Regions from separate parts of the Homo sapiens genome. Here region 1 is linked to region 2. The links are contacts of gene promoters, found by promoter capture Hi-C in blood cells and fetal thymus (Javierre and others, 2016). All regions are on one chromosome and are shown on one strand. The core of a region is centred on a gene start or on the middle of the fragment in contact, and the rest is flanking DNA. Distances in the headings are between cores, read along the strand shown. Region 1 overlaps LOC105370504 (a long non-coding RNA gene). Region 2 holds the start of BMP4 (bone morphogenetic protein 4).

The links. The method cuts DNA at HindIII sites, captures the fragments that hold promoters and counts their contacts. A CHiCAGO score of 5 or more calls a contact.
Region 1: a fragment that was not itself captured here is called in contact with the fragment with the promoter of BMP4 in region 2 in 1 of 17 cell types (endothelial precursors); the score reaches 6.1 in endothelial precursors.

Annotation. Positions count from the first base shown.
Region 1 is chr14:53,429,464-53,432,686 of GRCh38, reverse strand. All of the region lies in intron 2 of LOC105370504 (a long non-coding RNA gene), which reads right to left. Among named protein-coding and RNA genes, the nearest start is that of DDHD1-DT, 280 kb to the right of the region's middle. The HindIII fragment of the contact is 226 bases long and covers 1,493-1,718 here.
Region 2 is chr14:53,955,257-53,958,385 of GRCh38, reverse strand. BMP4 (bone morphogenetic protein 4) reads left to right here and starts at 1,561. Exons shown (of 4, transcript NM_001202.6): 1 at 1,561-1,836. It overlaps LOC124903317, which reads right to left. Exons shown (of 2, transcript XM_047432035.1): 1 at 2,058-3,129. The coding sequence starts at 2,485. RefSeq lists silencers at 1,599-1,678, 2,328-2,437 and promoters at 393-1,735, 1-1,735, 2,663-3,129. The HindIII fragment of the contact is 12,206 bases long and covers 1-3,129 here.

The DNA of each region.
Region 1 (3,223 bases), core at 356-2,855, 530 kb after region 2:
CTGAACAGGCTATACACTTTGGACGCCTTTCTCCATAAGGCACTCTCCATGTGACTGACATCACTTCTGACTGCTTCAAATGTCCCTTATGTGGATGACCTGCAACTTACTCCTAAAACCTTCTTCACTGTCTCTCCCTGGCTCCCTGCCTCACGCACCACCCCCCACCACCCTCACCACCAACCTCCAGACAGCAGCCAAGGTGTTCTCTGTCAATGGTGTCACCTAGTGGTCAGAAGGTAGAACTCCTTTATTTGACTTCCCTTTTCTACACCCTATTCTTTTATTCCTCTTCAAGGACTTTTTGGCAGAATATATCTACCTCTATTAAGTCATCACTCAGGGTTCATTCAATTCTCCCTTAACCTTTTTCACTTACATACACTCATCTCCTTTAACTCCCTTTCTCCTCAATCCTCTCTCTTTGAAGGAGGATCTCTCTCCCTTCATCATTTATTTCACTAGCCAAAATGTTCACCCAATCATCAGAGAATAGTGAGCTCTGAAATCAGACAGAACTGAATTTTAATTCCAGAGCCAATGCATTAATTGTGAGATGTTGAGCAAATTGTATGGCCTTTCTAAATGTCAGTTTTCAAATCCATAAAATGGAGATAAATTTGCTACTTCACAGAGTTCTTAGAGGAATGAGATGACTTAAGAAAAGCCTTATCTAATTGCACATAATCAGTATTTAATGACTATCACTCATCTCCACACCATCATGAGTAATGCATAAAATAATCATGCTGCTGTATCAAGAAAAAGGAAAGCCATATTCTTGGGGATTAAATTTGTTCTACTTAAGAACCAGTGTCTATAATACTTAAAATCTTTTCAGTAATTTCTCATCAAAACTTCCACAGGGGTCCATGTACTTGCTGGTTTTATCCTTGTTATAAATAGTATTTCTTCTTCATGATAGATAAATCAAATATTTATAAGATAGTCTGGGTATGTAATGTTAAATCAAGCTTAGCCTAAAGCTAAACCTCCTTACATATTTTAAGTTCGGCCTAAAGGTTTTGCCGTACATTGTGAACTATAGTAAGTGGAAGTGTAAACCAACTGTAGCCTACATTTGTGCCAATCACCAAGTTTTGGCCAATCAACTGTAGACAACTGTTTCAACGGTGTTCAAATAAGGCAAATGCCAAGCTGTAACCAATTTGGCTATTTCTGTACCTCACTTCCATTTTCTGTACGTCACTTTCCCTTTTCTGTATGTCACTTTCCCTTTTCTGTCCATAAATCTTCTTCCCCTACATAGCTGCGCTGGAGTCTCAGAGCCTGCTCTGGCTCGGGAGGCTGCCTGATTTGCGAATTGCTCATTCCTCAATTAAACTCCTTTAAATTTAATTATGCTGAAGTTTTTCTTTTATGAATGACCATCATTTACAAACATTACTTCTATGCAAAAGTGCATTCTAAATTCCAAAGAGCCATCAATTAGGAATTTATTCTAGTTTTGGTTTTAAAATTATGAAAAGCTTTAAACTAAGCAAACCCAAAAGTAAAGAGTACGTTTTGCTTTTTTTCTAAGGGAGGTCAGGACTTCTAAATGGGTCAGCTCACAAAATAAAGTGGAATGTGTGCTGATACATTGGAGAAAAATGTGAAAATTCAACCTGCCCTAAGAAGCACCGATTATCCTCTTCAAGCATAGTTTGTTATCTTAGCTACACATGTGACACAAAACAAATCCAGCCAAAGAAGCTTATGAACTAGCATTTGACAATATATGCAGATTACTGGTTTATGTTATTTATCAAAATACAATATATCAAAGATAATGCAATAAAGTATCATACTGGAACAAATGGACACCCATATACAAAAGACTGAATCTTGATTCATACTTCATACCATATGTATATAAATATTCACCTAATATCAACCATAGACTTCAATGTAAAAACCAATCTATAAACTTCTAAAAGAAAATACAGGAAAAAATCGTGACCTTGGGTTAGGCAATGATTTCTAAGACACGACACAAAAAGCGTGATACACAAAAGAAAAAGCTGAAACTGAATTTTATCAAAATTTAAAACTTTTGTTCATCAGACACTGTAAAGAAAATGAAAGAACCATCCACAGACTGGAAAAAAATATTTCCAAAACACATATCTGAAAGAGAGCTTAAATCAAAAATATAGGAATTCTCAAAATTTAATAAAAGAATATAAAAATGGGCAAAAGATTTAAACACTTTACCAAATGAGATATAAAAATGTCAAATAAGGCCGGGCACGGTGGCTCATGCCTGTAATCCCAGCACTTTGGGAGGCCGAGGCGGGAGGATCACGAGGTCAGGAGATCGAGACCATCCTGGCTAACACAGTGAAACCCCGTCTCTACTAAAAAAACACAAAAAAATTAGCCGGGCGTGGTGGCGGGCGCCTGTAGTCCCAGCTACGCGGGAGGCTGAGGCAGGAGAATGGCGTGAACCCGGGAGGCGGAGCTTGCAGTGAGCCGAGATCGCGCCACTGCACTCCAGCCTGGGCGACAGAGCGAGACTCCGTCTCAAAAAAAAAAAAAAAAAAAAAAAAAAATGTCAAATAAGCACATTAAAAGATGTTAAACATCATTAGTCGTTGGGTAAATGCAAATTAAAACCATGATGAGATACCAATATGTATCTATTAGATTGGCAAGAAACAAAGATGAAAATATCAAGTGCTGACATAGGTGCTACGCAATTAGAATTTTACACGTTGCTCCTAGAAATGAAAAATGATTTAGCCACTTTGGAAAATGATTTAGAAGTTTCTTTTTTTTTTAATTATACTTTAAGTTCTAGGGTACATGTGGACAACGGGCAGGTTTGATACCTAGGCATGCATGTGCCAAGTTGGTTTGCTGCACCCATCAACACATCACTTACATTAGGTATTTCTCCTAATGCTATCCCTCCCCCAGGTCCCCACCCCACAACAGGCCCCAGTGTGTAACGTTCCCCGCCCTGTGTCCAAGTGACCTCATTCTTCAATTCCCACCTATGAGTGAGAACATGCGGTGTTTGGTTTTCTGTCCTCGTGATAGTTTGCTGAGAATGATGGTTTCCAGCTTCATCCATGTCCCTACAAAGGACATGAACTCATCCTTTTTTATGGCTGCTTAGTATTCCATGGTGTATATGTGCCACATTTTCTTAATCCAGTCTATCATTGATGGACATTTGGGTTGGTTCCAAGTCTTTGCTATTGTGAATAGTGCCGCA
Region 2 (3,129 bases), core at 312-2,811:
TCTGTTGTTTGGTGCATTAGGCCAAAAGACCTAGGCCTAATAGATGGAAAAGATGGCAGGATGTCTTGGCCTTGCTCTGACAGTTGCTTCTCTGATCTCAGATATTTCCCACCCTTTGTAATCTGTGTTCCACACAGGAAGTAGTTCTTGTTTTTTAAATATCGAAGGTGTATAAACGTAAAGTTTTTATAGATGAGCCACCCAGGGCCAATATCTGTTTAAGTAAAGACCTAAATGCTTTGCAGAGACAGTAAAGTGTCATGTCTGTCCCAGGGAAAGAAATCCAGGACAGGAAATGCTCAGTCTTCCAGCACTCCTCTGGCTACCTGGAGCTCAGGCTATGAGCCTCAACCCCTCCCTGAAGCATTAGCTCTGGAGCAGAGGCTGTGATTTACTTCAGAGATCTGGGCAAGTCCCTTTAACCTGGTAGTCCTGCCTTTCCTTGTTTGTAAAACAGAGAGATGAGGCTGATAGCTCCCTCACAGCTCCATCAGAGGCAGTGTGTGAAATTAGTTCCTGTTTGGGAAGGTTTAAAAGCCACCACATTCCACCTCCCTGCTAATATGATTACTAAAATGTTTTTATATGAAAGGGCCAATTCCTCATCTCCCCTCTTCCTTTAAAAACAGACCAAGGGGCATCTTTTCTTGTCTCCCTGTGGCCTAAAAGGTTACTGCTTCTGTGGTTATCTCCTTGGAAAGACAGAGTGTCAGGACTCTTAGGTACACCAAAAATGAACAAAAAAATCAACAACAACCATAACACCAACAAAAATAACTGCTGTGTCGGTTCTTAAGACGGCTTCTGAGCTAGAAACAGATTTTTCTAACTGTAAAAAACGTGGCCCCAGCCTGTCTGCAGGCCACCTCTGTCTTTAGGCCTTGGGGGGAGGAGGGAAGTGAGCTCATTTACTGGGGTCTACCTCAGGGTCATCACCAAGGTGTTCTACAAAACGCACTTTAAGAATGTTTTGGAAGGAAATTCACCTTTTAACAGCCCAAGAGGTATCTCTCTCTGGCACACAGTTCTGCACACAGCCTGTTTCTCAACGTTTGGAAATCTTTTAACAGTTTATGGAAGGCCACCTTTTAAACCGATCCAACAGCTCCTTTCTCCATAACCTGATTTTAGAGGTGTTTCATTATCTCTAATTACTCAGGGTAAATGGTGATTACTCAGTGTTTTAATCATCAGTTTGGGCAGCAGTTACACTAAACTCAGGGAAGCCCAGACTCCCATGGGTATTTTTGGAAGGTACGGCGACTAGTCGGTGCATGCTTTCTAGTACCTCCGCACGTGGTCCCCAGGTGAGCCCCAGCCGCTTCCCAGAGCTGGAGGCAGCGGCGTCCCAGCTCCGACGGCAGCTGCGGACTCGGGCGCTGCCTGGGCTTCCGGGACCCGGGCCTGCTAGGCGAGGTCGGGCGGCTGGAGGGGAGGATGTGGGCGGGGCTCCCATCCCCAGAAAGGGAGGCGAGCGAGGGAGGAGGGAAGGAGGGAGGGGCCGCCGGGGAAGAGGAGGAGGAAGGAAAGAAAGAAAGCGAGGGAGGGAAAGAGGAGGAAGGAAGATGCGAGAAGGCAGAGGAGGAGGGAGGGAGGGAAGGAGCGCGGAGCCCGGCCCGGAAGCTAGGTGAGTGTGGCATCCGAGCTGAGGGACGCGAGCCTGAGACGCCGCTGCTGCTCCGGCTGAGTATCTAGCTTGTCTCCCCGATGGGATTCCCGTCCAAGCTATCTCGAGCCTGCAGCGCCACAGTCCCCGGCCCTCGCCCAGGTTCACTGCAACCGTTCAGAGGTCCCCAGGAGCTGCTGCTGGCGAGCCCGCTACTGCAGGGACCTATGGTGAGCAAGGCTACCTGGTGAGGGGAGACAGGCAGAGGGGGTCTAGGAGCCTCCTTGGGGGGAAGAAGCTGGTCACAGGCTGTGACCGAGGCAAAAGGTGGCCTAATTATTTTCCAATAGTGGTGCTGGAGGTGGGGATGCTGGCGCTGAAAGACCTTTAAATATCGGCTACTGCCCCTGCCCAGGCCTTCTCTGTCCAGCAGTCCCTGGGAGATTCTCACCTTTGGGAAGTGCGGGGCAGGAGAGCAGAAACAAGAGAAGCCCTTGGTAGGGGGGTCGTTGGGAAAAACTGTGGGGTCTTGGGCTGAACGCGTTGCCCACGGGCTGGAGGTTGCGATCCCCGGACGGAAAGCGCGGGAGGAGGAAGGAGAGAACCGGCTCTGAGGTCCAGAGAGAGTGAGGGGGCAGAGCGACGGCGAGATGGGGAGAGAACACCTAGCTGGAGCAGGTTCTGCGGTAGAGAGCGCAGTCCTGCTGGCCTCTGGAGAGTGCGCGCCGCTCCGGAGGCTGCGTCGAGGGGAGTGTCACCCAATCTGGCCCCCAGCTGGCGGGGCGCCCTGAGAGCTTGCGAACTGCAGTTGCAGGACGCGCCTTCTCCACGAGCTATTTTCGTCGACTTGCGGAACCCAAGGAACCTCGCCTCTATCATTTCACGGTGTAGGGTCCCTAGAGACGACAGCCAAGATCCCAGGGGCTCCCAGGACGCTTGTTCCTGCGGTGTCGTGTCCTATGGGGAGTTCCTGGCGGGACGAAAGGCGGACGCGCGGCTCTTCCTGGCCCTCCAGGCCCGGAACCGACGGGAAAGGTTCCCGTGATTCCCGAGTCCCTGCAGGCTTCTTCCAGCGGGAGTTGGTCCGGGGGCCTTAGAGGCCTCCAAGCACTGCTTTGGAGGATGGTTTCCAAGGATCGCGGTTTGTGAGTTGAAGGCTTTGTGAGAGGTTAAACCCCCAAAAGATACATACTTGGTAAACTGAGGCTACCTGTAAACACATTTCGGCATTAGGAGAAGATTCGAGTAGGGAAGTGAAGGACAACCACCCCGAGTTACATTCCTTTCCCCCAATAAAAAGCTCTGGGGATGAAAGTTCTTTTGGCTTTTATCTTTTCGATTTAAAAATTTGAGAAGAAAAATGTGACTAGAGATGAATCCTGGTGAATCCGAAATTGAAACACAACTCCCCCTTCCCCTTCCTATCCTCTCGGTTTTAGAACCGCGCTCTCCCGCCCCAGGAGATTCCTTGGGGCCGAGGGTTTTCCGGGGAACCCGGGCGCCCGCCCCTTCTACTGTCCCTT